Regions from separate parts of the Homo sapiens genome. Here regions 2, 3, 4, 5, 6 and 7 are each linked to region 1. Evidence: promoter capture Hi-C in human tissues and cell types (Jung and others, 2019). All regions are on one chromosome and are shown on one strand. Each heading gives the region's core, a stretch centred on a gene start or on the middle of the fragment in contact. The rest is flanking DNA. Distances are from core to core; before and after follow the strand shown. Region 1 holds the start of MYCBPAP (MYCBP associated protein). Region 2 overlaps SPAG9 (sperm associated antigen 9). Region 3 has its middle 13 kb from the start of TOB1. Region 4 overlaps PPP1R9B (protein phosphatase 1 regulatory subunit 9B). Region 5 has its middle 16 kb from the start of WFIKKN2. Region 6 has its middle 15 kb from the start of SGCA. Region 7 has its middle 26 kb from the start of MIR8059.

Region 1 (3,953 bases), core at 1,454-3,953:
TCTTTTGCTCTAGAGTGGACTCTGAGCTCCTAGAGGGCAAGAGGAAATGTTTCTTATTTTCCTCCATATCTTACAGAGCTTCTGGGACAGCCACGGAGGTGAGCCATTCCTGTCTCCCTTCAAGAAAGAACTTGCCATTCACCCTCAAGGAGGGCAGTTAGCTGACAACTTCTAACAAACATTCTTTGCCCAGAGGACATGCTGGGTTGGCCAAGACTTTGTTAGATCTGCAGCACAGTCTGAGGCTCTCCCAGCCCTTTCCTGCTTCCTCTCCCTCACCGGCCTTGCCACTACCCCCTCTCTCCGCAATAAACCTCTTGCGGTCCTATGTTCATCTCAGTGCTTGCTTCCTGGAGGACCCACATGGCACAGCACCTAGCCTGCTGGATCATAAGTGCTCAGTCGCGAAGTAAACGGAACTGGGGATTCTCTAGAGGGTAGAGGGAAGCCAGAGCCTGGGCCTCGGAGAGCAGGAGAGGGGCTGTCCGTGGAGGATGCCTCAGTCATAAGGAGAGCAAGGTCTAGAGCAGTGTGAAGAAGGGGCCATGGCCCTGGAGCAGGACCCAGCAACGGGCAACACACAGGGAACTCAGGGATTCACCAGCACTGCTGGCATCGTCTCTAGCTCCTCCGCTGTCTGGGGCAGCTCTTGCAAACTCAGAAATGTCCCAGGAGACAGGGTTCAAAGAGCCCTGGCCTTGGACTTTAGAAAACCAGGTTCAATTTGTGCTTCCCGCTAGTCAGGTGACATTACACCCTTCTCTCTGGAGCTCAGTTTCTCCGTTTGTAAAATGGGCTTATAATGTGTCCCCTCCCTTCAACCCCAGCATGATTTTGAGAATTGACTGAGAAGATACTACAGTTTATGGAGGGCACCCTGTTTCGTAGTTTAAATGCACACTCAGGCCAGGTGAGGTGGCTCATGCTTGTAATCCCAACACTTTGAGAGGCCAAGGCGGGAGGATCGCTTAAGCCCACGAGTTCAAGACCAGCCTGAACAACATAGCAAGACCCTGTCTCTACAAAAAATTTAATAATTAGCTGGGTGCAGTGGCACATGCCTGTAGTCCCAGCTACTCGGAAGGCTAAGGCAGCAGGATCATTTAAGCTCAGGAGTTTGAAGCTGCAGTGAGCTATGATTGTGCCACTGCACTCCAACCTGGGCAACAGAGTGAGATACTCGCTAAGAAAAAGAAATACATACATATTCATTTAACCCTGGCAGTGGCCTTGTGAGAGCAGCATTATGACCTCCATTTTATGTATGTATATATGTATGTATGGATGTATGAGATGGGGATCTCACTTTGTTGCCCAGGCTGGAGTACAGTGGTGCAATCAGAGCTCACTGCAGCCTGGACCTCCTGGGCTCAAGCAATCTTCCTGCCTTAGCCTCCAGAGTAGCTAAGACTACAGGTGTGGGCCACCAAAGCCAGCTAATTAAAAAAAAATTTTTTTAGGCTAGGCACGGTGGCTCACGCCTGTAATCCTAGCACTTTGGGAGGCCGAGGCGGGCAGATCACGAGGTCAGGAGTTCGAGACCAGCCTGACCAACTGGTGAAACCCCATCTCTACTAAAAATACAAAACTTAGCCAGGCATGGTGGCACTCGTCTGTAATCCCAGCTACTCAGGAGGCTGAGGCAGGAGAATCGCTTGAACCTGGGAGGCAGAGGTTGCAGTGAGCCGAGATGGCACCACTACACTCCAGCTTGGGCACAGAGCAAGACTCCGTCTCAAAAAAAAAAAAAAAAAAATTTTTTTTTTTTTTTAGAATGGAGTCTCCCTACGTTGCTCAGGTCAATTTTGAACTCCTGGCCTCAACCAATCCTCCTGCCTCAGCCTTCTAAAGCACTAGGATTGTAGGCCTGAACCACTGTGCCCAGCAGAGAAAACCGGCTCTCTAGGTCAAGGCATTGGCTCAAGAACACACAGCTAACAAGCCGACATAGCTGGGATTAGAACCCAATTGTCTGGCTCTAGAACCCCTTCACTATTTGAGGTACAATTTACTGCCTGACTACTAGTGCTAAACTTTGGGTTGGGGGCAGGGCCTGAGGCAGCTCCTGCTCTCATACATTCTGAGAGCCAGTTTGACAATAGGCAACTACACAAAAAACCGAAATAATCCCAGAATGCCTCAGGGCTCCAGGGGAAGGCGAAAAAAGCGGGTGCGTTTATAAACTTAAAATAATCAGAGGCAGCATCTCCAAGGACTGTGAGAATGCCCCAAGTCAGGGCAAAAGTTTTGGCTGGTTTGGGAAGTGATGAAAGGCCAAAGTGGCTGCAGCGAGCGTGGACCCGGGAGGTCTCCAGGCGCGTTGGTGCGAGTTGGGGACGGCAGGCAGGGACACCTAAAACCTACGGTACGCCACGAAGGGGTTTCAGCACGTCCTGAAAGGCCCGATCCCCCCCCAGAACCGCTGTGAGGGGGGCAGAGGGAGGTCCCTCGACAGGATGTGGCCTTAGTCGAGGAAGGCGGGAAGCAGGGGCTGGCACCCCCGACGCCCCACCCGCCCCCCGTGGCCTAGCAGCAGGGCGGGGCGAGGCGGGTCATGCACCCCTACCAGCCAGCCACTCCCACCCAGCCCTCGGCTCCCGCAACTCGCGGGGGTCCTCGCCCGGGTCCCCCGCCCCGCCCCGCCCGGCTGGTGACGTCACGGCGCTCGTCGGCGCCGCCTGTGGCGTCACAGGCCGGGCCCGCAGGGCTTTCTAGGGGTCCGTCGCTCTTGAAGCCGCCGGCGGCGGGCGCGTGCGCGGCCCGATGAAGAAGGAGGTTTCCAAGCCGTCTCCGCCCAAGTTGATCGGTGGATGCGCGCCCCCGCGCGGGGCACCGGTTGCTGTGGACGCAGTGGCGGCCGTTGGCTGGCGGGTGCGGCGCAGCCTCGGTGTCTCTGGGCCGGCGGTGCAGGGCAACGTTTCATGGTGCCGGGCGGCACCATGAAGTCTCTAAAGAAGGATTCCCGCCTCAGAATAACTCCGACCAGATTATTAGAGGCCTCAGAGAATGTCAAAGGTTGGCGCTGGCTGCCTTGGGCGCTCGGGAGAACCCGAGAGGGGAAGCGGTCCCCGGAAAGAGTTCAGGACACGGGGCCTGGAGGATGGGGATGGCACCAGGGATGGAGGAAAGATCACGGGGAAGTGGGGTACTGGGCATAGGACCCTTAGGGATGGGGGGCAAGGCAGGAAGAGCCTACAGCGCACTGGGCCTTGGGGATGGGGACATAGGAAGTGGGAGACTGACAGAGGGGCCTCAGGGACCACTGGCTGGGGAGATGGCCTTGCGCTACCTCTAACCACATCTTAGGGTGGCATGCAGGAGGCAGGATCCCCGGACTGGATGAAGTGCAGAAGAGCCAGGAAAGAGTTTAAGGGTAGAAGGGCCAGGAATTGGGGTCCTTGGGAAGAGGAAAGAATGAAGTGTTGAAACCAGCCACCTTGATGGGATTATTTGGTAGAGGAGGGTCGGGGAGCGGGGCAGGCGTCACTTAGGATTCCTGCTGGAAAAACCCAGAAGAAAGGCCTTGCTTGGCTAGTTCTCTTTTTGACTGCCTTTTCCTACCACGTGCACTTTCCAGCTGGATGACACTTATCCAGCTCCTTTAGCCTGGAAAGAATCGCTAGATATGACTGCTTCCTACCCTCTACAGCTTTCTTCTGGTTGCACCTGGGAGAGCCACAGGGCGTCTGATAGCGGACTGACTTCCATGGACATGTTCTCACTTGCAACCCACCCCCTTTTGATCTTTTTTGGCTGTTTCCATTTATTTATTTTTAAATTTAATTTTTAGCTTTTTTTTTCTGTGTGTGTGTGTGTGTGTGTGTGTGTGTGTGTGTGTGTTTGTAAACAGGGCTCTCGCTGTGTTGCCCCAGCTAGTGTCAAATTCTTGGCCTCAAGCGATCCTCCTGCCTCGGCCTCACAGACTGCTAGGATTCCAGGCATGGACCACTGCG
Region 2 (4,271 bases), core at 1,117-3,616, 460 kb after region 1:
GAGATCGCACCACTGCATTCCAGCCTGGGCAACAGAGCCAGACTCCGTCTCAAAAAAAAAAAAAAAAATCATATTTAGCTTTGCCTAGAGTAATAGATAAAAAAGGGTAAATCACACATTTTCAAGAAGCTTGAGAGGGAAAAAATTGCAGCATCGTGGTTTTAAAAAACTTATTAAGCAAGAAAATCAGTGAAATCCAGACTTTAATCTATTTTTTGCTTGTTTGTCTGTTTTGAGACAGGGTCTTGCTCCGTCACCCAGGCTGGAGTGCAGTGGTGCTATCAAGGCTCACTGCAACCTCCACCTCCTGGGCCCAGGTCATCCTCCCACCTCAGCCTCCCAAGTAGCTGGGACTACAGGCATGTGCCACCACACCCGGTTAATTTATTTTGTTTTTTTTTTTTGGTAGAGACAGGGTTTCGCCATGTTGCCCAGGCTGGTCTTGAACTCCTGGGCTCAAGCAATCCATCTGCCTCAGCCTCCTAAAGTGTTGGGATTACAGGCGTGAGCCACCATGCCCAACCTATTTTTTTTTTTTAATGGGCATTGTGAATGAAAATATGTAATGTCAACCTTTACTTTATGGTATCTTAGGTTTGTCTTCTTCCCCTTCATAGTTTTCCCCTTTGAGGATAACCCTTCAAGCTCAAAAGGGCACAAAAGCTAAAACGTTATTCACGTACAAAATACCAAGTATATAGCTGTTCTGCAGTTTGATACAGAACAAAAGAAAATAACTTTTCTAATTAAATCCCTCATTCTGTACTTAGGCCAGACTCCATCCCCACTACAGTTTTACTTGTATTAACAGGTTAAGAGCAATCTAGGAACATTTGGCAAACAAGTACATTTTTTACATGGAAAAAACTCAATCAACATCACCATTCTCTGGTACAAGAAATACAAAACACATTTCCTTTAAAAAATCCTCCCAGTGCTGAAGTATCTTCTAAGCTTCCCAGAGTATGTCCTAAGCTTTATAAATAATAAATCTTTCAGACATGTCAGTATGAAAATGAGACTGGTCTCAAAAAAAACCCATCAGAATATTCAGAGAAGTAGGCCTCATAAACTTTAGAGCTCTAATAAGTCAGAAACAGGAAACGTTTATTTAAATAGTGTAGTCTTAATTTCTTTAATATAAAACCCCCCCAAATCTGATGAAAACAAAGTTTTATATACCATATAAACAAGATTTGTCAGATTTGAAAGTGAAAGTTAAAGTAATTTACAGTTAGCTTTTAACCCTCTCGGGACATTTAGATACATCCTGATAATCCATCTTGTATTAGTGTGTGTCAATTTTACAATACACTGGGGAAAACTCAGCTATTGTATTTAACGGTACAGTTTCATTTATCAAGTGTTTCCCATTAATTCCATTATTAGTGACAGCTAACAAGTGACCCCATCAAATGAAGTGAATGACATTAGACTGTGGCAGAGTAAACCACATCTGGATTGCTTTCTATAATTCACCAGTTTGCAGGAAGTAAACATTCTTTGATTTGTTCATAATATACTGAAGTTACCTATAACACTGGTGCAGTAACACAGCTAGTTCCTCTGTATTGTTATGGTAGAACGGATTTTGTAATATAAAGTTAACAGGAAAAAATGCTCACACATTATGTGGTGAAACTTATCTCACAAAAGAGCATTAAATAAAAGGATAGAGGGAAAATAAACCATGCAGAAGAGACGGCTTCCCCATCTCCACCTGTTTCCCATGGGCTCACTCATTGCCATACATCACTTGCCACACTATCAAGTGACTCCTTTCTGCTTTGGTGACAGAAGGTTCAAGTGGAAGATCCTCTCCAAGAAGTTCTGATTCTCCACCTTCATCACCTAGTGAATGATAAGAAGACTCAAGTTAGGCTGAACACATAAAATATAGAATGATGTGAGTCAGATGTAATGCTCGTGGTTAGTCCATGAACAAGATGCCCAAAACTTGTCTGACTTTCACTGGAGAGTAAATAGTAGAAGAAATACTAAGAGTCAGAATCCTCACCCATATTCACCCAAGCCACTGCTTGACTTCAGAAAAGGTTAATTCATTTTTCAGACTGTATTTATAAAATCCAGTTCACTATACTACGTTAAAAAGCCACCCCAACATGTCTGCATACCGATGGTCCAGACATGGGAAGCTAAGAAGGCAATTCTGTGTTCATCCAAAATGAAGAGTCTACTGTCACTTATTTTAAACTAAGAACTGAGAATAGTGTTATAAAATGCGTGAGCACAGGTACAGAGCAAACTAACTAAACCCAAATAACTCACAATTATCAATGACAGGTGTAATGTTCTCCAATTGAAGATAATTGACACAAGCATATGGAAATTAAAATAATTAGCCTGCAGCACTGCAGATGGCAGATTCACCAGCTACTGGGTTTTTCTTCCAATGATTTTCAAGTTTAGGATAGGTTACAAATTAACAGTGTATAATGGAAAAGGAGAAACAAAGAGGTTGGGGTAGCAGCCAAGATACAGGTTCTTCTGCATCACGGCTAAGTGAATGTGATCCATGGTGTCCTGATCAGACACTGGCTTCCAAGGCCCAGTCTGGGGTACACCACACTCCTCTCCATAAGACCCAGTGCAGGGCATACCATAATTCTCGATACAAGCTTGCATCAATTGTATCTGTTGTCACAGAGCAGGGTTATTTTGGCACAACCCAGTGAAAAGTTGTCTAGTGGGATGGATTCTTCAGCAGAATCCTAAAAACATACACACCACAGGACCTAAAGATATATTCCACTGATCTAACAGAATTTTGTAATGTGCCCCATGTGAATTTCAGCTGGACAAAAGAAAATATTGATACTGTTGACTAGAAACAACAGAAGAGAAAAAACCCTAAATATCTGCATTTTTCTCTGCAGGCCAAACTTTCCCTTACCCAGCCCTGTAATGGCCTTTTCACAGCAATATCAAACTAGAGAGAGGAGAACACTCAGTTCAAACTCCCATCTCTGAACTGAAACATACCCAGGTGGTTAGAAGGTAAAAAAATTAAGTTTGGCTCTTAAATTTTAAAAAATTTCAATGAAAAAAATTAACTGGCTGAGACAAAAGGCTGTCGCCATTTCTCTTCTGAGTTGTTCTGAAGATTTTACTTGTAAGAAAATTATCCTGTCTGCTAGGGTCTCTACAGCCTAAGTTTTAAGTTTAAATCATTAAAAATATGGGACTTTAGAATCAATTTCTCACTGTTAAAATATTACAGGAAATGAAAAAGGAAATGGACCCCCAAAAAAGATCAAATTTGATTTTTTACAACAGTATATTCACTATTAAAATTAGCCTATGCTAAAGACAAGTCTGTTTTTCAGGCTGGAAATAACTAGAGATACTGCCAAACCTGGTTAAGCAATTTTTGTTCTATTTTCAGGATCCACAATGGAAGGAATTTTTAGTGGAAATGGAAAAACCACATAGAGATTTTATTAACAAACTCCTCAGTACGGTTCCAACTGACATACTGCACTCCAACACAAAGTTACAAAAATCACCCCAGCCAAGTGGAGTCCCTAACAACTCCTCTCATAAAAGGGAATTCAACAATAGTCAATTATTCAAAACACTTTGAAATGACTCCATTCCTGCTGACATCCCTGGAATCAATTTCTAAAGTTCACACTAACAGCCTTCCCCTCTTAAAAGTGTCAACAAACTTTTTGCATCAGATATTGGTGACACTAATCACATTTGTCACATTGTCATTTAAATGACCCTAATTTTTTTTTATTCCTTTACAGAATTCATATCTAAAGTATTTGTTACTGATCTACAACACTATTATATTCTCTCAAACTGCCTACTGCCTTATGTCTGGGAACTTTTTGAAGCACTGAGATTTTAAGCGAGTCCAAGGGATCAGTTTATTTATAGCAAATAAGCTGGGTGCGGTGCCTCATGCCTGTAATCCCAGCACTTTGGGAGGCTGAGGCAGGTGGACTGTTTGAGGCCAGGAGTTCGAGACCAGCCTGGCCAACATGGTGAAACCCCGTCTCTACTAAAAATACAAAAATTAACCAGGCGTGGTGGCACATGCCTGAAATCCCAGCTACTCGGGAGGCTGAGGCATGAGAATTGCTTGAAACCGGGAGGTGGAGGTTGCAGTGAGCCAAGATTGTGCCACTGCACTCCAGCCTGGGTGACAGAGTGTGAGACTCTGTCTCAAAAAAGAAAAATTATAGCAAATAAATAAACATATTTGTACAGTGTCTTACAATTTACAAAGCACTACTCTTTCA
Region 3 (4,248 bases), core at 571-3,070, 340 kb after region 1:
ACCCTTTTACAGTTAGGAAATCTGAGGTGGAATCGTTTTAACAGTGCACTGCTATTTAAGGTTGAGTTTGAGATTTGATTCAAAGTCTGACCCCAGGCCAGGCGTGGTGGCTCACACCTGTAATCCCAGCATTTTGGGAGGCCGAGGCAGCGGATCACCTGAGGTCTGAAGTTTGAGACCAGCCTGGCCAATATGGTGAAACCCCGTCTCTACTAAAAATACAAAAAAATTAGCCGGGCTTGGGGCTGGGCACCTGTAATCCCAGCTACTCAGGAGGCTGAGGTAGGAGAATCCCTTCAACTCAGGAAGCAGAGGTTGCAGTGAGCCGATATTGCGCCACTGCACTCCGGCCTGGGTGATAGAGCAAGACTCTGTCTCAGAAAAAAAAAAAAAAGGAAAAAAAAAAGTCTGACCCCAAAGCCCACGTTCTTTCTCATAGAGGATCACGAGGAGTAATGTTATTTGGAGGCTGAATGAAGCCCCCTACACCACTCTAGAGCATTCTTACATCTGCAGGGGAAATTGTGGGGCCTAAACATGTGTCCCCGCTGGTCAAGTGAGTGTGAGACAAGGATCAGACGCTGGTGTCTTCTGTGCCAAAGCAGGATCCACACTCTGTACAGAATAGTGATGCTCTCTGAACAGTCCCAGGTCACATGAAGGAGTTTGGCCAGCTTGTGGTGGTATTTTCAGTGGATGACAGAGTGCTCAGCCACCAAGAGAACTTAGGGAAGCCTGGGGAAGGGCATTGCCCGGGGAAGTGACCCAGGCGAAAAGTTATTTGGGAATGTTAATTTCTGGCTGAAATTTATACAAAGCTTTCCCTTCAAAGCCTCATTCTTTGATTTATGTTCAAACCGGAAGATATTACAAGCACCCAAAAAGCCAAACTGGAAAAGGAAACTGCAGAGCTCCACAGACTTGTTGCCTTGGCCAGGGGTAGGGTGTGGCGATGGGAGTGGCAACTGGGAGTGACCTGGGGGTGTCTGAGTTTGTGCAATGAACACGCACTTTCCACCAACACCAACTTCTGGAGGGGTAGTACCTGCTGTGAGCCCTGACATCACAAAACCAAAAGAGGCTTTGTCACTAAAGGTAGGAAAACAAATGAGATGACCCCTAGAGGGAGCTTCTAGCCTGAGGAAGTTTCTAGATTAAGCATGAAACTGAAACTGTCTTAAAAGGAAGGAATTCGACATCCCTCTGACACAGCCTGACGCCCCTCTCAGTCCCACCTTTTCTTTCCTTGGACTTCTTACTGGTCCTCCCCATCTCACTCCTGGGTTTGATGAATAAAGAAGTTTTAAACTATTTCTCTTTCATAATGTTTCTGTACAAAGCTTGAAACAGTGAAAAAATAAGTTAAAATGTTCAAATTCAAAGGCAGGTTCTCCCAGGAGAGATGGGCTGGCAGCAGAGCTTCTATTTCTGATTTCCTCTGCCTTTTTCCCCAAGGGTTAGCAGCACACATTCTTCCTACTGTGGCTACATCTGATGAAGAACACACACACACACACACACACACACACACACACACACACACCAGGACCAAGGTTTTCCTCTCAACTGCCTGTTCCTCCACTGGAGCTGGGAATTTGAGGGAGCCCAGGCTTCCCCGGGTGCTTCCAGTGGACATTGTACCCATTCTTCATAGCTGGATATCTCCCCCCAGATCTAGCATCCCTAAGATAGGCACAGTCTCACCCTTTTTTGTTCATACCCCTACATTTTCCTGTGTATTATGATTATTTGGGCGTGTGTGTTATCGTTTGCTAGAATGTAAGCTCCTTTAGAGGTTCCGAAGGATTGTATATATCACTGCCAGTTCCTAACGCAGGAGATGCTTAATAAATGTGTTGAGTGGATGAATACAGGAGCTGTTTTTAATCATATCTCACCTTGTTTGAGAAAGAATTTAGGGACAAGAATGGAATCTGAGCCCAGGGCAGCCACTTGAGTCAACATCACCCTTTTGCTATCACAAGTACTAGTAAAGCTCAGGACCCAAGACTTCAGTATGTGAAGTGCCTATAGTTGCTTCTCAACAAATCTAATCATCCAGAGAGCAGTCGCAATGTAAGTAAGTAAAGCTAGCACGTAGCCCTCAAACTCATATCTTACTCCATTGTGTTTTTGCAACCGATTTCCCTTTCCTAATTGTGCCTGGCAAAGGCTGATAGCAAAATAAGTTTGGGATTGCTGAGCAAACAATCACAAGTGAGGTTTGCAGGAGAGGGGGACTGGGCACAAAGTGCAGCTTAGATGACTTCTAAATAATCAGGTGGGGCTCTTTTTATAAAATCGACCGGTTGAGGTCAACCAAGGGAGCAGGATAGTGTAATGGTTAAGGATCATGGACTTTGGAAACAGAATCCCACAGTTCAAATCCTAGCTCCGCTGGCTGTGACTGTTGCAAGCTCTCTGCCTCCACTTATATATCTGTAAATGGGAGAAACAGTACAACCTTCAGAGGGTTGTTATGAAGTTGAACTGAATTTAAATGGGGCAGTATCTAGCACATAGTAAATTCATATAAGGGTTGCCATTATTACTACTGAGCTTTTGGGGTTGGTCATTCCCTCTGGATTCCATAAGACTTTGTGATAGTATAAAAATCATCCTTCAAATAGGCAGTGCTTTACGTAGGAGCAGTTCCCCATCCTCCTTGAAAATCTGGGAAAAAAACACGCGCACAATCTTTGGGAAATGGCGGTGTCAGAACTTCTGCAAAGCCTCCTTCCGAGGAAACTGATCTCCAGGGCAAGTTGTCAGGCAGTGTATGCATAAGCTCTCTCCTTTACTGTCCTTTCCACCTTTCCCAGGCCCTGGAAGCAAAGGCAGATAGAAGACATAACACCCTGGTCCCTTGCCGGCTGCCAGACCCTTCTCCTTTGGCAGATGCTCCTGGGGAGATAAGCTCTCACCTCCATCTCTCTATTCCTTTTACACAGAACCCAAAAAGTTCTTTGAACTTTAGTGGTTCAGAAAATAAACAAGAATCTTCTTTCTAAGTTACCAAAAAAAAGTTTCCTTCCTTTCTTCCAGCCTTTTTCAAGATTCACAAAGAAGAATTTCCCCAGGTAAAAATCTTTTATAGCTGTGTGAAAACTGTTTGTTCTCAAAGTCTTTAGTTAAAGAGCCTCTGGTGACACCTTAGTTTCTAGAAAGGTTGACTGCAAAGATTGCAGCTATCTTAAACCTTGTATTAAAATGGTTTAAGAGATTCCTATCATGTTTTCTGGAAATAAAAAGAAATTAGAATAAAGTAAGTCACCAGGGCTCCACAAAACTTTAGAATGGCAGGTAGTTTGCAAAACTAGGAGAGTTCTTTTTGGGAAAAGAGATTTGAGGGCAGTAGGCAGATCTGGATAATCAGAGTGAAGAAAGAATAGGCATTGTCATTACAAAACAAAACAAAATTCAACCTTCATCCTTACTAAAAATGCATCGATGGGGCCGAGCGCAGTGGCTCACGCCTGTAATCCCAGCATTTTGGGAGGCCAAGGCGGGCAGATCACGAGGTCAGGAGTTCGAGACCAGCTTAACCAATATGGTGAAACCCCGTCTCTACTAAAAATACAAAAATTAGCAGGGCGTGGTGGCACGTGCCTGTAATCTCAGCTACTCAGGAGTATGAGGCAGGAGAATTGCTGGAACCCGGGAGGCGGAAGTTGCAGTGAACCGAGATTGCGCCACTGCACTCCAGCCTGGGTGACAGAGTGAGACTCCGTTCCCCCTCCAAAAAAAAAAAAAAAGGAAAAAGAAATGCATTGATGGCTAGTGGAGGGGTGGCAAGGGAAAGCCATCTGAAAGGAATACCTGCATTTAGTGCAAAACAGAAAAAGATGTTCCTATGCCTGGAAACTACTGAACCTGTGTCACAAGGTGTCTGGATACTGTACTAAAGTGTACAATATTTGCAGGGTAGGATGATTCCATTTCTTTCTTTTTCTTTTTTTTTTTTTGAGATGGAGTCTTCCTCTGTCGCTCAGGCTGGAGTGCAGTGGTGCGATCTCGGCTCACTGCGACCCGCCTCCTGGATTCCAGTGATTCTCCTGCCTCATCCTCCCCAGTACCTGAGATTACAGGCACGTGCTGCCATGCCCTGCTAATTTTTGTATTTTCAGTAGAGACGGGGTTTCACCTATTGGTCAGGCTGGTCTCAAACTCCTGACTTCATGATCCGCCTGCCTCAGCCTCCCAAAGTGCTGGGATTACAGGCATGAGCCACCACACCCGGCCAGTAAT
Region 4 (4,255 bases), core at 971-3,470, 370 kb before region 1:
GGGAGTGATCCCTGAATGTTAAGCCAAAGGTAGAGTGGACACAGGGAGCTTCTGATCCAGTCCCCTTGGTTACAGGCCTGGGGCGGAGTCTTCCCAGGATGACATAGGGCTGGTCGGGGTGGGGGGCATGAGGTCCCAATGAGGGGACCCCAATATGGTTAGCATTCACCCTGGACGTCCTGGTTCTTCAGTCAGTGAGTCAGGGACAGGTAGGGGGAAGGAGAAGAAGCCCTAGAGGACAGTTTGGAGGGCTGGTGGACAGTGGGCCAGGAAGGCTGAGTACTGGTGGCCAGCTGTTGCCAGGGAGCTGGGATGAGAAGGCAGGTGTGAGGCGAGGGACTCCAGGCACAGCAACTCCTGCAGCCAAGGAGTCAGCAGAACCTCTGTGAGCTGGGCCACCAGAACCTTAACTGGCTGTTAAGGCAGGTGAACGGAGTGCCTGGACGAGGACCTCCTGCCCGCTCCCACGCCCCACCCCTCTGGGCTCTCACCGCACTCGGCCCTTGGTGTTCCGGAGCACAGACGCCGCGAAGCTCTGGGTCACTCCCACCAGACTTGTTCCATCCACCTCCACCAGGAGATCATTCACCTGGATCCTAGCGGAGTGACATTGGTTAAGGGGTCACAGGGGAACCGAGGAGCGAGGGTAGAGGTAGCCTCCTCCCATCAGAAACTCCAGGCTCCCCAGCCTGAGTACATAGTGAGAACTCATCTCTACAAACAATAAAAAGAAAAATTAGCTGGGCATGGTGGCACGTGCCTGTAGTCCCAGTTACTTGGGAGGATGAAGTGGGAGGATCACTTGAGCCAGGGAGGTCAAGGCTGCAGTGAGCTGTGTTTGCGCCACTGCACTCCAGCCTGGGCAACAGAGTAAGACCCTGCCTCAAAAAAAAAAAAAAACAAAAAAAAACAAGAAAAGAAAACAACAACAAAAAACCTCACAGATACTTTGTCCTCACAGGGACCTGGTACTTTGTCTACCTGCGTAACATTCACAAGGCCAGAGGATTAAGTGTCAGCCAGGCCCACCTGTGTGGGCAGTGAGAGCCAGGCAAGCAAAGCAGACACAGGCGTCCAGGACCAGGAGACGCGGCAGGCACACTTCCTGTGACAATCACACTCTTGTCCCCTCCTTCATCATACTTGACTGAGCGGTGTGACATTCTCAGAGTTCATCTCTGCCATGCACACTGGCCAGGAGCCCCACAGCACACAAGTGACATGCCACCCTCTTACGTGTACATTTCTGCACAGAACTGAGTGCACAGATGTCCTCCCAAGTCCCCAAGACCGAATGGCACTCTCTCGAGTTCACACACTGTCCCACACACACCTGATACAGGTGCACCTGCCGACACACTCCAGTTGTGTCCCCTGAAGCCCGTGTTCTCCATACAAGGGGAGGTTCAGTCTGGCCTGCTGAGGGAGATGGAGGGTGGGGGGCCTCTCAGACACCTCCCTCCTCCACTCCACCTCCCTGGGAGCTCCAGGCCTTCTCTCAGGACTCCCACACGGAAATGGAGGAAATGGCCTATTGTCAACAGCTCACCCCAACACATGCCACTCCCAGGTGGGCATGAGTGAGTGGCCACGGCCACCATGCACACTCACTCCTTAGACAACCCACAGGCAACAATGGGAAAGGCTCTGGAAGTTCACATTGGGAGGGGAAGGGGTAAATGAAAGGGTATCCTGTTCCCGGCCCCTCTCCATGCCACCTGGGCCACAACAGGTAGAAGCCCCTTGACAGGGCAGCCCCATCTCTAGAAACAAGATCCCAAAGTCACCCAGATCCCAAAGGACACCTGCTCACCTCTGTCACATGGAGGGGGTCTGGGTTTGGAGGTACCACCACAAGAGATCCCCAATGTCACCTCTAACTTACAGCCACCCTGGGGGATGCCCTACAGCCCTTCCTACTGCCACTCCCCACACCCCTGGAATACACAGCTAACACAGGGGTCCCTGGCTGGCACACAGCTCCAGGATGCCCTCCCTGAACCTTCTGTCCCACAGAACTCACCCCTTGCAACCACAGATGCTCAATACAGGCACACACACTCACATGCGCAAAGACAGCCTGTCTCCAGAGCCACTGCCATCAATGGGTCTAGTCACAGCCTCCTGGCCCCTGCTCTCTATGCCCCAGCCACACCTGCCTGCTCATGGCGCCACTGCCTGGAACCTCTGCACTCACTCCCTCAGCACAGCTAACTCCTGCTCCAGCCTTAGCTCTCAGCTCCAGCACTGCTTCCTCCAGGAAGCCTTCCCTAATGCCCAGAGAGATTAAACCCTCCTGTTGTATGCCTTCACAGCAGTCTGCATTTCCCTCCATTTCACTACCTTTTGTGTGTCCATTTATTCAATGTCTACCTCACACCACACTGCACACTTCTCAAGTGCGCCAGGCCCTCACCATTGACTTCCCAGGGCCCAGCACCGGCCCAACACTGTCAGAGACTCAATGTCCAGCGAAAAAAAAGCTCAAATATACTCCATGCCTGTCTTCTCCCTACCAGGGCCCAAACTGTACTCCAGACCGGGATGCACAACACACGCCTATAGCCCCCATGGTCACCAGCCCCTCCTGGAGAACACACGCTCCTTCAGGGCATAGGGGCTGACAGTGCTCACTGTTGTATTTCTGGGGCCTGGAACAGCACCTGGCATGGCAGTGCTCCCCGAACATCTCAGCTGCACACACAGCACGGAAATCTCCCAGGGAAGGCCCGCCCCACCCCCTGCTCAGTGGCCCACCCCACCAAGGATGGCCGGTCGGAGAGGGAAAAAGGGTCAGGCGAGACTGGGGAGGATTGGTACCTGCCATCCCGATGGGCCGCACCACCCTCCGTCACGGTCTTGACGAAGATACCCAGCTTCTCCAGGCCCATGTCTGCCCCGGCGCCCATGCCGATGATGCTGATGCCCAGGCCCTCGGAGTCTGTGGAACAGAGAGTGGTGAGATGGCAGGGCTTGTAGGGGACAGACGAGAGACTCTCCACCCCGAATTCCAGGGCACAGCCCCCCCATCAGGAAGCAGTCCCCATTAGGGGATGTCCCACAACTGAAGAAGGGATATAGTTCTGTCCACCGTCTTTGCCAAGTCTACTAGGATGGCTCCTGAGCCGCTCCCTGCCCTTTGTCCCTTCCAAAGAACCAATGGGCAGAAGAGCGTGCCAAGGGTGGCACAGGCAGGTAAGACTGTTGCATATGCAGACCAGGGCGTGTGGCCAGGATGGGGGTAGCCAGGATGGGGGTAGCCAGGATGGGACTCAGCCCTAAGCCTTTGGTCTTCTCCCTCTCAGCCAGTCTCATCTGTACTCATAGCTTCAAGGACCAAAGACCTCCAGATTTTCTCTCCCCTGAGGTCCATTCCCCTATCCACACCTGCCCCTGCCTGACTCATGGCCCTCTGATGTCCCAACTAATGACCTTCCCCCACAAACACTCCCTCATGGGGGATGGTACCACCACCTGCCACCTGCCAGACCTGGGAGGCACCTGGATTCCTCCCTCCCACTCACAGCCTCCACCTGAGCCAAATGACCCCCAGATGCTATGGATTCTACCCCTGGAGATCTTTCCAGTCCACCCACACCCGCTCTGCCATCTTCCTGTCCACGCCACAGTGGCCTTTCTCCATCCACTTGTGACCCCCTCCCTACATCACAGCCTGGTGTGGTCTTTCTAGACCTTTCCTGTGCTTCGAAATGGCTCCCAATCCATCTTAGCAACAAGACCACGTGGTCTGCAAGGCCTCATTTGCATGCTCTTCTTGCCCTCCCTATGCAAATGCAGCCAAGCCCCTTTCCTGACTACTCCCCTAATTCCTCCTCACCAGAGTGCAACTCAAGCTTCACTTCCCTGGAGAATGCCCCCAAGCACAGTCTGGTTAGGTCACCTGTTAAACGCTTTTACAGTGGCCCCTCCTTACCTTCCCCAGCCCCTATTCCAGCGCCTAAGGGTGAGATTAGATGTGACTGTGCCTTCCATGTCTGCCTCCCCCATCCATCTCCCCAGGAGCCCACCACTGTGTCCCCAACACAGAGCCCAGGACCTAGCACACAGTACCCTACAGAGACCTGTTAACTGAATGTGCAAATGTGGTTCCATGACCGGGGTGGTGGGGGTGTGGCTTGGCCTGGGTTGGAGGCCCTGTTTGCTCTGGGTGCTGACAAGGGAGGAGCGGGGAAGGTCACCAAGGGCCTGAGTCAGAGGGAGAGGCCCAGCAAGTCTGTGGGAGCCCCTGAGGGCA
Region 5 (4,209 bases), core at 31-2,530, 310 kb after region 1:
TTATTCTATGTTTACACCTGAAAAATATTCATTCATTCATTAGTTCAATAGAACTTTATAGAACGCCCTATGCCAGGCACCAGATATACCTTGGTGAATAAGACACGGTTCCTGCCTTGAGGTCTGGCTGGGGAGGCGTGTCAATACATTCCAATGTGATGAATGCTAGGAAAAGCAAAACGCTACGATCAGCTCAGGGTGGGATCACAGAAGTGGATGCCTGGCTTACCTGGCTCGAATTTGGGGAATCACCAGGAAGAGGTGATTTCTCAGTGGAGACTAGCAGGATGAGCAGGAAAATTCCCCGGGGACAGGAAGTCAGAAAGCAGAGAGCAGTGACAATTCTGGTGGGGGGCGGAGGGAAGCAGAGAACTGAACCAAAACATCATAATTTGGGCATAGGCATTTTAGCATTCTAGATTTTCTTTAAAATTCATGATTCAAGAGATAAAAATATAAGTTTGTTTCTAGATATATGACTAAGGTCTCAAAGAGAACTACTTCCCTAATTAGTCCACTATGGAAAGATGTATTCAGATTATTTACGGATAGGGGAAGGCCCTGCATAACTTCTGTGTCAGTCTCCGGAATGGCTCATATGCAAATGGAGAAGGAATCACTGGATCTGGGTGGATGCCTTCTGGGGAACAGAGTTGTCTTTCGGTGTTCCAGGAGCTGCAGATACAACTTTGAAGGCAGTGGCTCGAAACCCTGGCTGCAAGTAAAAATCACCTGGGAGTTTTTTTTTAATTTTTTATTTTTATTTTTATTATTTTTTTTGAGACGGAGTCTTGTTCTGTCGCCCAGGCTGGAGTACAGTGGCATGATCTCGGCTCACTGTAACCTCTGCCTCTTGGGTTCAAGCGATTCTCCTGCCTCAGCCTCCCGAGTAGCTGGGATTACAGTCATGTGCCACCACACCTGGCTAATTTTTGTTATTTTTAGTGGAGATGGCATTTCACCATGTTGGCCAGGCTGGTCTCGAACTCCTGACCTCAAGTGATCCACCCACCTTGGCCTCCCAAAGTGCTGGGATTACAGGCATGAGTCACTACACGCCTGGCCACCTAGGAGCTTCTTAAATCTACCACACATGGCAACCACTCTGGCAACTGATATATTAACTGTTTGGGGCTAGGGTGCAATGTCTGGGTGGAAGGGGAAGCTTCTGTAAAGGAGATGAAGAAGAAGCTACCAGGGAAGTGGGTAGAAAGCCAGGAGAAAAAAGGTCACAACACAGATGTAGGGGGAGAGTGGTCAGGAAGGAGGATGTGGTCAACAGGTCACAAGCTGCAGAAAGGCAAGAAAACGAGGACTGGTTGTGTCATTTAGGGCCATGGTAGTCACTAGCAGCAGGTGACTTTAGCAGCAGGTGACTTTAGCAGCAGGCTTGTCAGCAAAGTAACGTGTGGGAGGCTGGATCACAGAGTTCAGGAGAATGAGTTCAGGGACTTGGGAGGTGAGAAAATGGAGCCAGGATGCGGACTGACTTGGAAGGTAGAAAGAGGCAGGGCTGTTCATGGAGGGGGAATACGGGGTGGAAGGAATGATGTAATGATCTGTTGAGGATAAGAGAGACATGAATGTGTATAAAGGTGGCAGGTATTTGGGAGACAGAAGGCGTAATTGATGGTATAAAGTTCCTAAGGAGGTGGAAAGAAAGGGAAGTGTTGGGATCCAACACATTGTTGGCAGCATTGACCTTAAATAGGAGGGACACCTCCTCAGTTGTAACAGGGTGGAAGGTGGAGAGGGTGTGGTGGGGGCAGGGTGGCTCATTTTACTTGGTGGGGGTCAAGAACATCCATCACTCAGAATTTACTCATGAATGCGGTGACTGGATTTTCAGAGGCACGTGGCCTTGATAGAGGCCTCTCTCTACGTCCTCTCTTTCTTTCACGTCTCCCTCGTGGCAGCCAGACCTGGAGGCACTGTCCCAGTGATGAGTTAGCTGGGGGAGTGTAGGGGCTGGCCACCCTTTCTTTCTGGCCCATCTTCTCCACCTGTGGCAGGACCCTTGGGGAAGGAAGCTGGAAGGTTGAAGCCTGGCCTAAGCCTAAGCCCCAGGGTTCATCAGGGTCTACTATACTAAGGGTCTCTGCATTGGGGGCAGGGCTCAGGCACCAAGATGACTCCCTCCCTGAGAAACCCCAGAGGGAAGGGGATACTCGGGCATTGAGCCCTCACTCCAGCACCCTAACACCTTCTACCCTCAGTGGTGGGGTCTTTGCCTTTCTGATCCTCATGTACCTGAGGCCACAGTGGGCAGGTTGTACCTGCCCTGTGCCCTGCAGGCACAAAGGGGCTGGCTCCCTTGCATGGGCCCCCTCTTTATCCTCCAATTCCCTCCTGTTTTCCTTCTGCTGACTCAGAGTTAGGAACAGAGCCTCTCCAAACTTTGGGAAGCACCTCTCCTGCCATCTACCATGGTGTCTGACTGCTGGACTTAGGGAGAGAAGCGCCTTCCCCCCGGCTCCTCACTGGCAGAAAGTCCTCCTGGTGGCTCCCGATGAATGAGCCTGGCCCATTTTCTGCCCATCCTCTGTACCCAGCAGTGCCCCCAATCATTCCACCATGAAATGTGCAGTAGCTTTCTATCCCTCAACTATTTCATGCTCACTTGGCCCAAATGCGGACAGTCATGGGTTCTTCTGCTTTTGATATGGAAACGCTGGGAAGGGAAGAGCGTGGTCCCTTTAAATGATACGGAACAGCGCAAGGGAAATGTTGGGTAGAGGAAGGTTGTGCTCCCTGGCGAGGGCTCCACCCTCGTGGACCTAGGTTAGGACAGGCACTCCTGCTTTTGCACCCAAATGTTGCATTTCCCAAGACCACCCTGTCCTGCCACACCCCCATCCTGTGCCTATAAAAACCCGAGACCCTAGCAGGGCAGAGACAGAAGCGGCTGGACATCTAGAGGAGTATATTGGCGGTGGGACACACAGGCGGCTGGATGTCAAGAGGAACGCACTGGCACCGGCATCGGCATGCCAGCAGGCCACTGACCAGCAGAAGGACGCAGAGTTTGGCTGGGGCAGTTGGAGGAGAGCCTGGGACACCAAGCGGCCCAACTCCAGAGGAAAACCATCTCCCTTCTGGCTCCCCCATCTGCTGAGAGCTACTTCCACTCAATAAAACCTTGCACTCATTCTCCAAGCCCACGTGTGATCTGATTCTTCTGGTACACCAAGGCAAGAAACCCTGGGATACAGAAAACCCTCTGTCCTAGTGACAAAGTAGTGGGTCTAATTGAGCTGACTAACCCAAGCTGCCTACAGATGGCAAAACTGAAAGAGCACCCTGTAACACACGCTCACTGGAGCTTCAGCTGTAAACATTCACCCCTTGACACTGCCGTGGGGTCAGAGCCCCACAGCCTGCCCATCTGTATGTTCCCCTAGAAGTTTGAGCAGCAGGGCACTGAAGAAGCGAGCCATACCCCCATCGCACACCATCTGAGGGGGACAAAGGAACCTTTCCCGTGAGACTTTTTTTTTTTTTTTTTTTGAGACGGAGTCTCACTCTGTCGCCCAGGCTGGAGTGCAGTGGCGCGATCTCGGCTCACTGCAACTCCTGCCTCCCAAGTTCAAGCGATTCTCCTGCCTCAGCCTCCTGAGTAGCTGGGACTACAGGTGCTCGCCACCACACCTGGCTAATTTTTGTATATTAGTAGAGACAGGGTTTCACCATATTGCCAGGCTGGTCTCAAACTCCTGACCTCATGATCCGCCCACCTTGGCCTCCCAAAATGCTGGGATTACAGGCGTGAGCCACCACGCCCAGCCTCCTGTGAGACTTTCAGTCTGCTTGCTGCAAGCTAGAGCAGTGACTAATATATATTTTCTGTGGTCTACCTCTTCACTTAGCTACATACTGTTTTGTTGTTTCCCTCAAATCGCCACTCCCAAGATCAACCCAAAACAGAGTTCAAAGTGCAAAGCAAGCCTTTCTGAAATAGAAGGCAAAAATCAAAGCCTCCTTCCTGGTGGTGGTGTAGGCATGGGTGAGAGATTCTACCCTCTGAGTCCCACTTGGACTTGTGTGGACTCCCTCCTCTCCAGCCACCCTGGCTGTCTTCCAGTTCCTCCAATGCTCTGTGCCACCTCCCATCTCACAGCCTTTGCATATACTGTCCCCTCTTTGTCCAGCTAACTATGATTTATCCTTCAGGTCTCAGTATTGATGTCACTTCTTCTAGAAGCCCTTACC
Region 6 (4,360 bases), core at 1,687-4,186, 330 kb before region 1:
CCCTGGCCCCTAAGATTCAGGCTAAATGAACTCCATTTCCACCTGCACCTTGTAAAAAGTTCAATCTCTCCCTGTGAATTGGGAGTGGAAGCCTAAATTTGTATGATCTTTGGTACGGAACTGCTGCCTAGAGCTGCACCATCCAGTACAGCAGCCTCAGGCCATGTGGCTACTGAGCACTTAAGATGTGGCTAGTCCAAACTGAGATGTACCTCAGTGTAATGGTGAAACGATCGGATTTGGGGATACATTAGGTTAAATAAAAGACATTGCTAAAATTAGTTTTACCTGTAGATACTTATTTATTCTTTTGAGATGAGGTCTCATTATGTTGCCCAGGCTGGAGTGCAGTGGCATGACCATAGCTTACTGTTACCTCAAACTCAAGTGATCTTCCTGCCTCAGCCACCAAGTAGCTAGGATTACAGGCACTCACCACCACATCTGGCTAATTTTTGCAATTTTTTTTGTAGAGATAGGGTCTCACTGTGTTGCCCAGGCTGGTCTCAAACTCCTGGCCTCAAGGGATCCTCCTGCATCAGCCTCCCGAGTAGCTAGGACATGCACTACAGCACCAGCCTTTTTATCTTTTTTTTTTTTTTTTTTCAGATGGAGTCTTGCTCCATTGCCCAGGCTGGAGTGCAGTGGCGCTATCCTGGCTCACTGCAACCTCCACCTCCCTGGTTCAAGCAATTTCCCTGCCTCAGCCTCCCGAGTAGCTGGGACTACAGGCGCACACCACCAGGCCCAGCTAATTTTTTTTTTGTATTTTTAGTAGAGACAGGATTTCACCATGTTGGCCAGACTGGTCACAAACTCCTGACCTCAGGCAATACGCCCGCCTCGGCCTCCCAAAGTGCTGGGATTAGAGGCGTGAGCCACCGCCCCCAGCCCTTTTTATCTTTTTTTAAATGGCTGCTAGATCATAAAAAATTACATCCGCACCTTGGGTTGTATCTTTATTGGGCTGTGCTGGTTTCATGGCTCTTCCTGTATCTCCATCCCAGATTAACTCACACCCAGAACTCAGCCCCTTTCCCTGCTTTCTACAGAACACCTGCTCTCCTAGGCCTCCGTGAACTCAGCAGCGAAGCCCTGGCCTGCGGGCAGAGTTTGCCCCACAGCAGTGAATTCATCCAGAACTTGCACGTGTATGTGGCCTCCCTCTCTAAAATGTTTTAGTCCCCATCATGGTTCTCTGTCCCTTCTCATTCAGTACCCCCTTCCCAGTTCCTCCCACTGTCTTTTGCAGAGAAAATCCCACTTTCTCCAGCATTAGCATGTGCCAAACTCACCTCCCTCCTGGCCTTGCCTTGCACATCCTCTGCAAAGGGTTGAAATCTCTGCATGGGGAGGGCCTGCCACCCTCCTGGACAAGACCCCTCCTGCTTCCAGGATCTTGCCTCCCTGACTGTGGACATGCCCTCGGCCTGACTTGATACCCTCTGGAGCGCACACAGGGGAAGGGGACAGGGAGACTCAGCCTTCCCAGCACCAGGGCTCCCACTGGCTGGGGGACTTCAGGAGAGTGGTCTCCTCCCACACCGAGCCCCCACTAATTTTTCCCACACTCCTCTCTGCTCCCCCGCCCCATTCATCCATATCACACAGACAGACCCTCCTATGCCCTCTGTCATGCCCATGTACACATATGTCCCAAATGCCACAGTCCATGTGTTCTCACAGTTCACACAGGGTTGCTTTCACTGCCATACGTGTGGGGAAGCTGCCCTCATCATGCACAGATGCCCGCCCACCCCAACCCACACACATACATGTGTATAGGCCCCTGTGAACACAGATACATTTATTTGTGCACAGGTAGGTGGGCACAGACAGTGAGACACATTCTCATCACCAGGCACCCCCAGGAGACAGAGACCCCTTGGTGGCACTCACCTTGCTCCCTCAGACGCCATCGCAGGCCTCCTCGTGTGGACGCTGGGCTTGACGGCAGCCTCGCATTCTTTCCCACGCGGCCCACGCTCACGCCTGCTCCACACACAGTCTCCTCACCCCAGCCGGCAAGCTTTCTTGCAACCCCTCTCCTCCTCCACCCACCCAGCTCTGTCATTGGAGAAAGTCTGGGAAGCTGAGAGTTAAGGTGCTGGGGAAAAAAAAAAAAAAGGAGGGAAAATCTACTGTATTCCGGTGATAGAAAATCCTGCCAGGAGATGGGGCTTAGGTCCCAAAAGGGACCCAGGATTCTGAGATTGCAGCAGAAATTAAAAATCCAAATGAAGCCTCCTCCCTTTCTAGAATTTTCCATCTGGGCTTGACTGAAAAATCAGCCAAAAATCAGGAGCCTGGTCCTTCTCACAGAGAAGACAAAGGTGAGTCTGACAGAGCGGCAGGCTCTGTGACACCCTGCAGGAGATAGTGAGGGTCTCGGGGAGCGGGTCTGGGTGGCTGTATTTAGGGCGGCTGTGATGTCAGCGGAAAGGAGGGTTTGAGTTGGGAATGTGGCACAATGGCCCCTTTGTCCCCCTCCCCTCCTGTCCTGTACACACTGAAACCACACACCGGCCCCACACCACGTGATGCAGGCTCAGAGCTGCCCATGGGGCACTGCCACACAAGGCTGCCCCCGCTGCAGCCCTGACCCACAGTGCGTGTGTCCACATACATGCCCACGCGTGTGCACACACACCCACGTACCCACATGTAGATTTGTACAGAGGTGACAAGAGGCATATTCACTCCTTTGCCTACAGCTCTGCTGCCCCGTATGGTAACCCTTATCCCACATATAGTTAGTAAAACTAATTGCAATTCAGTAAAAGTGGAAACTGCATTCCTCAGTCACACTAACTGCATCTCACATGCTCAACAGCTGCATGTGGTTAGCGGCTACCGCACTGGGCGGTGCAGCTCTAGGACATGTCTGTTGCTGCAGAAAGCCCTGCCCTGCGCCCTCCGTTGCTGTCTGCTCCCCCATGGGCCTTCCACTTGCTCTTCCTCTCACACTCGCTCACTCCTGTGCACCAAGCACACACAGCGCCATGCTCTCACCTAATGGGTGGCCTCTCTAGCTCAGTCTCTCTCTCTTTAGTCTCCCCAGTACCTAAGCACAGACTCTGCCTAGCCCTGCATTGCAACACCTGGCCTCTAGTCTGGAGAGAATAACAGGATGGAAACATGACCACATCCACAATCCTAGGATGAAGGACCGAGGGGAGCTATGTGGATCTGGAGAGCTTTGGAAACTCAGAGGGGCTGAGCTCAGGCTGGGTTGGGCAAGGGAATGGGAAGAGAATGAGACATTTGAGCATGGCCCGGACAGTAGGGTGTTGAGCATGCAGAGAGAAAGGACATCTAGAAGGCCTGGAAGTGGGGAAATGCAGTGCATTTGTGAGAACTGTTGGCCACCCTTTTTGGTTGGTGTGACAGATGTGGGCAGGGGAGGGGACAGTGAGCCTGGGCAGGTGGGTAGTGGCCAGGTAGAGCCTTGGATGCCAGGCTCAGGATGTCCCTGGGTCCCCCACGAGGGCAGATGGGGATGTGGCCTGGACAGCCAGGGTCCTAAAGTCCCAGAGGTCCAAGTGGACAGGGTTTCCTGGGCAGCATGGCAGGCATCACCAAGCAATCAACACATTGATCAAGAGATGGAGCCTGGTGCTGTGGCTCATGTCCGCAATCCCAGCACTTTGAGAGGCTGAGGCAGGTGGATCACTTGAGGCCAGGAGTTCGAGACCAGGCTGGCTAACATGGTAAAACCCTGACTCTACTAAAAATATAAAAATTAGCTGGGCGTGGTAGTGCATGGCTGTCATCCCAGTTACTTGGGAGGCTGAGGCATGAGAATTGCTTGAACCTGGGAGGCGGAGGTTGCAGTGAGCTGAGACTGCGCCACCGCACTCCAGCCTGGGTGACAGAGTGAGACTCTGTCTCAAAAAAAAGAGAGAAAGAGAGATGGATAGGCATCACACAACTTTGGGTAATTTGCATATGAATAAGCCTTCATTTATATGCCATCATTCTTATCCTCTCTACACTGATTCCCTTTCTACACTGTCCTAAGTGTGGTAGAAGTGCTAATGATGAATTATTGAAGGCCATAATGAACGGCCATGAATACTTAATGACATCACGATATTAGTATTGCTGATGGATGGTATCTACAGACTTGTCCATCTCTCTGGAGACCTTAGGGAGGAGTGCGGGCTTTTTGTTCTTTTTGGGTTTAGACCTGAGATGAGGTGAGAGAGGTGACCAGCTGTCGTCTCGCTGTCTCCCTGGCTCCGGGTGCCTGGTTCTCTCTGGACTTCTGACGCCCTGGATTCTCTGTCCCCCGCTGACCACACTCGCTGTCCCCCTTACCTGAGATGGGGGAGCCGAACAGTCACCTTCCCTCCGGGCC
Region 7 (3,951 bases), core at 13-2,512, 290 kb after region 1:
AAAGGCCCATGAAGCCTCAACCTCAGGCAAGGTCAGAGTCAGGGAGTGTCCTTCCCCAGGCCTGAGAACCTCAAGATTGCCATCAGCACATCGAGAGAGAATGGCCGGAGGGCGGACAGCAGAAGAATCAGGCTGGAGAACTGTGTCTAACTGTGAATTTCGCACGTGGTTGCTGGCATCCAGAAATGACTGGAAGCAAGTAGAGGAGCCTTTTCAGATTTTCAGGGAACTGTATGTCAAATAAGCCATAAGCCTGAACTTCAAAAAATAAACAAATAAAAAAGAGAGAAAGTGTTTGAACTTTTGGGCCTTAAAACCACCTTGAGGCTGGATGTGGTGGCTGACGCCTATAATCCCAGCACTTTGAGAGGCTGAGGCATGTGGATCACCTGAGGTCAGGAGTTCGAGACCAGCCTTACCAACATGGTAAAACCCCATCTCTACTAAATACACACACACACACACACACACACACACAGTTAACTGAGCATGGTGGCGCATGCCTGTAATCCCAGCTAGTTGGGAGGCTGAGGCAGGAGAATCGCTTGAACCCGGGAGGTGGAAGTTGTGGTGAGCTGAGATTGCGCCATTGCACTCCAGGCTGGGCGACAGAGCGAAACTTCGTCTCAAAACAAAACAAAACAAAACAAAACCACTTTGAGATCTTAAAACTTTTACCCGAAGGAGCTGCAGGCTACAAAAGATGAGCAGCAACCCGGGAGGGTCTACCCCTCAACGGTCGCTGCGAATGCGGCCTTGGAGCAACATGGCAAGACGACAGTGTGGAGGGCAGGGCTGGGAGCCATAGAGAAGAGGACAGGGCAATTCCTTCAAGGGTGGGGGCGCTCCCAGCACCCACCTGGCCAAATGGCATCATCGCTGTCATCAGAGCCTGCTTTGCATCTTCTGTTCTTCCCTTCTCTGAAGAGGATGTTGTCCTGTGCTTGCCCTATCTGCACCCCACCACTGGATCCGGAAGTGTGTTGTGTGTCTATACTGGGGTGGAGAAAGGAAGGACACGATAACTTGTTCTTTTAGGCATCGGTTTCCAGATCACAGGGAGTCACAGAGGACCTGGAGGAGAGAATCCTGTGTGTGCTGGAGATCCCGAACTGTGGCGGAGGCCCCAGGAGGCAGTGATGGTGTGGACTCAGCTGCCTCTCCGGGAAGCAGTGAGTGTGTTCCATGTGTAAGAGGAAGAGTGAAATGGCTACTTAGTGGCTATTGGGCAACCCATGGCAGAGACTGGCTAGAGGCTTACGAACGCTGTCTTAGTCCATTTTGCATTGCTGTAAAGGAAACTGAGGCTGGTAATTTATAAAGAAAGAGGGGTGTTTGGCTCATGGTTCTTCAGGCAGTACAGGAAGCATGATACCAGCACCTGCATCTGGGGAAGGCCCCAGGAAGCTTCTACTCAGGGCCACAGGACAAGGGGGAGCAGGCACGCCACATGGCCAGAACGATGCCAGGCTCCTTTAAATAACCAGGCCGGGTGCAGTGGCTCACACCTGTAATCCCAGCACTGTGGCCAAGGTAGGAGGATTGCTTCAGGCCAGAAGTTTGAGACCAGTCTGGGCAACATAGCAAGACGCCATCTCTAAAAAAAAAATCAGGCTGGGCGCCGTGGCTCACACCTGTAATCCCAGCACTTTGGAGGGCCGAGGTGGGCAGATCACTTGAGGCCAGGAGTTCAAGGCCAGCCTGGCCAACATGGTAAAACCTTGTCTCTACTAAAAATACAAAAATTAGCTGGGCATGGTGGCAGGCACCTGTAGTGCCAGATACTCAGGAGGGTGAGGCATGAAAATCACTTGAACCCAGGAGGCAGAAGTTGTAGTGAGCCAAAACTGTGCCACTGCACTCCAGCCTAGGTGACAGAGTGAGACTCTGTCTCAAAAAAAAAAAAAAAAAAAAAAAAAAAATTAGCCAGGTGTGGCGGTGTGGGCCTGCTCAGGAGGCTGAGGTGAGAGAATCACTTGAGCCTGGGAGGTGGAAGTTTCAGTGAGCCGTGATTGCACCACTGCACTCCAGCGTGGATGACAGAGTGAGACCCTGTCTCAAAAAAAAAAAACAGACAAAAACAAAGCACCCACATGAACTAATAGATTGAGAGCTCACTCATTACCATGGGGAGGGCACCAAGCCATTCCTGAGGGATCCACCCCTATGATGCAAACACCTCCCACCAGGCCCACTCCTAACACTGGGGCTCATATTTCAACATGAGATTTGGAGGGGCCAAACATCTAAGCTATATCGAACGCCAGCCCCTCTACTGCCAGATGAACTGCTAGATCACATTCCCGACTTTCATTGCGTTAGATGTGGCCATGGGCGGAGTTCGGGCCAGTGGAAGGTGGGTGGAAGTGAGGTACTTGTCTATCATAAAAACCCACACAACCTTCCAAACCATTCTCCTTGTTCTCTCCAGGCTGCTGACTGGATACAGATGTCCAAGGCCAATGAGGAAGCCATGTGTCAAAGATGGCAGGGGGCAGGGCATGGTGGCTTACACCAGTAATCCCAGCACTGTGGAAGGCTGAAGCAGCTGGATCACTTGAACCCAGGAGTTTGAGACCAGCCTGGGCAACATAGTGAGACACCATCTCTACAAAGAATTTAAAAACTGGGCCAGTCGTGATGGCTCACGCCTGTAATCCCAGCACTTTGGGAGGCTGAGGCAGGCAGATCACAAGGTCAGGAGTTCGAGACCAGCCTGGCCAACACAGTGAAACCCTGTCTCCACTAAAAAATACAAAAAATTAGCTGGGCGTGGTGGCAGGCGCCCATAATCCCAGCTACTCGGGAGGCTGAGGCAGGAGAATCGCTTGAACCCAGGAGGCGGAAGTTGCAGTGAGCCGAGATCGCACCATTGCCCTCCAGCCCGGGCAACAGTGTGATGAGACTCCATCTAAAAAATAAATAAATAAATAAATAAATAAATAAATAAATAAATAAATAAAATAAAAAACTAGCTGGGCACAGTGGCTCACATCTGTAGTTCCAGCTACTTGGGAGGCTGAGGTGGGAGGATTGCTTGAGTCCAGGGGGTTGAGGCTGCAGTGAGCAGTGATTGCACCACTGCACTCCAGTCTGGGTGGGTGACAGAGCAAGACTCTGTCTCAAAAAACAAACAAAAAAAAACTTTTGTGACTTTGTGGAACTCAGGCCAACTGGATTTCCTATGAAGAAATACACTTCTATTACATTAAGCCACTGAAACCTTGGTGTTTGCCTGTAATAGCAGCTGGTGTCACCTTAACTAGAGTTGAAGCCATGGGAGCAGAGCAACCAGAGCAGGGAGAGGCAGGAAGAGAACTGAGGCAGGACCCTGGGGACACCTCATTAAAGAGCGGCTGACACGGAGGTGGCACAAAGGAGACTGAGAAGGAAGCAAGAGGAGGATGAGGGCAGAGTGGCCTTCTGGAAGAAAAGGAATGTGGTGGCCAGGCATGATGGCTCACGTCTGTAATCTCAGCACTTTAGGAGGCCAAGGCAGGTGGATCACTTGAGGTCAGGAGTTTGAGACCAGCCTGGCCAACATGGTGAAACCCCATCTCTACTGAAAATACAAAAACTAGCCAGGTGTCATGGTGTGTGCCTGTAATTCCAGCTACTCAGGAGGCTGAGGCAGGAGAATTGCTTGAACCTGGGAGGCGGAGGTTGCAATGAGCTGAGATCACACCACTGCATTCCAGCCTGGGTGACAGAGCGACACTCCGTCTCAAAAAAAAAAGAATAGGCCGGGCGCAGTGGCTCACGCCTGTAATCCCAGCACTTCAGGAGGCTGAGGCGGGTGGATCACAAGGTCAGCAGTTCAAGACCAGCCTGGCCAACATGGTGAAACCCCGTCTCTACTAAAAATACAAAAATTAGCCAGGCATGGTAGCAGGTGCCTGTAATCCCAGCTACTCCGGAGGCTGAGGCAGGAGAATCGCTTGAACCTGGGAG

The links. The method cuts DNA at HindIII sites, captures the fragments that hold promoters and counts their contacts. A contact is called where the count stands out against the background at its distance.
Region 2: a contact is called between a fragment that was not itself captured here and the fragment with the promoter of MYCBPAP in region 1, in 1 of the 25 tissues and cell types used here (dorsolateral prefrontal cortex).
Region 3: a contact is called between a fragment that was not itself captured here and the fragment with the promoter of MYCBPAP in region 1, in 2 of the 25 tissues and cell types used here (mesendoderm cells and thymus).
Region 4: a fragment that was not itself captured here is called in contact with the fragment with the promoter of MYCBPAP in region 1 in 1 of the 25 tissues and cell types used here (H1 embryonic stem cells).
Region 5: a contact is called between a fragment that was not itself captured here and the fragment with the promoter of MYCBPAP in region 1, in 1 of the 25 tissues and cell types used here (aorta).
Region 6: a fragment that was not itself captured here is called in contact with the fragment with the promoter of MYCBPAP in region 1 in 1 of the 25 tissues and cell types used here (spleen).
Region 7: a fragment that was not itself captured here is called in contact with the fragment with the promoter of MYCBPAP in region 1 in 3 of the 25 tissues and cell types used here (adrenal gland, bladder and heart right ventricle).

The regions. Positions count from the first base shown.
Region 1 is chr17:50,505,736-50,509,688 of GRCh38, forward strand. MYCBPAP (MYCBP associated protein) reads left to right here and starts at 2,704. Exons shown (of 19, transcript NM_032133.6): 1 at 2,704-3,015. The coding sequence starts at 2,940. RefSeq lists a silencer at 2,410-2,699 and enhancers at 2,720-2,779, 2,800-2,929. The HindIII fragment of the contact is 18,604 bases long and covers 1-3,953 here.
Region 2 is chr17:50,964,537-50,968,807 of GRCh38, forward strand. It overlaps SPAG9 (sperm associated antigen 9), which reads right to left. Exons shown (of 30, transcript NM_001130528.3): 30 at 1-1,851. The coding sequence ends at 1,736. Among named protein-coding and RNA genes, the nearest start is that of TOB1-AS1, 100 kb to the left of the region's middle. The HindIII fragment of the contact is 5,827 bases long and covers 1-4,271 here.
Region 3 is chr17:50,851,153-50,855,400 of GRCh38, forward strand. No RefSeq gene overlaps it. Among named protein-coding and RNA genes, the nearest start is that of TOB1, 13 kb to the right of the region's middle. The HindIII fragment of the contact is 4,759 bases long and covers 1-4,200 here.
Region 4 is chr17:50,140,778-50,145,032 of GRCh38, forward strand. PPP1R9B (protein phosphatase 1 regulatory subunit 9B) reads right to left here. Exons shown (of 10, transcript NM_032595.5): 3 at 2,821-2,941; 4 at 492-596. Among named protein-coding and RNA genes, the nearest start is that of PPP1R9B, 7.8 kb to the right of the region's middle. The HindIII fragment of the contact is 8,211 bases long and covers 1-4,255 here.
Region 5 is chr17:50,817,890-50,822,098 of GRCh38, forward strand. No RefSeq gene overlaps it. Among named protein-coding and RNA genes, the nearest start is that of WFIKKN2, 16 kb to the right of the region's middle. RefSeq lists an enhancer at 1,401-1,460. The HindIII fragment of the contact is 3,816 bases long and covers 1-3,188 here.
Region 6 is chr17:50,178,811-50,183,170 of GRCh38, forward strand. No RefSeq gene overlaps it. Among named protein-coding and RNA genes, the nearest start is that of SGCA, 15 kb to the left of the region's middle. RefSeq lists enhancers at 2,358-2,652, 3,112-4,007. The HindIII fragment of the contact is 5,023 bases long and covers 426-4,360 here.
Region 7 is chr17:50,792,250-50,796,200 of GRCh38, forward strand. No RefSeq gene overlaps it. Among named protein-coding and RNA genes, the nearest start is that of MIR8059, 26 kb to the left of the region's middle. The HindIII fragment of the contact is 8,529 bases long and covers 1-3,951 here.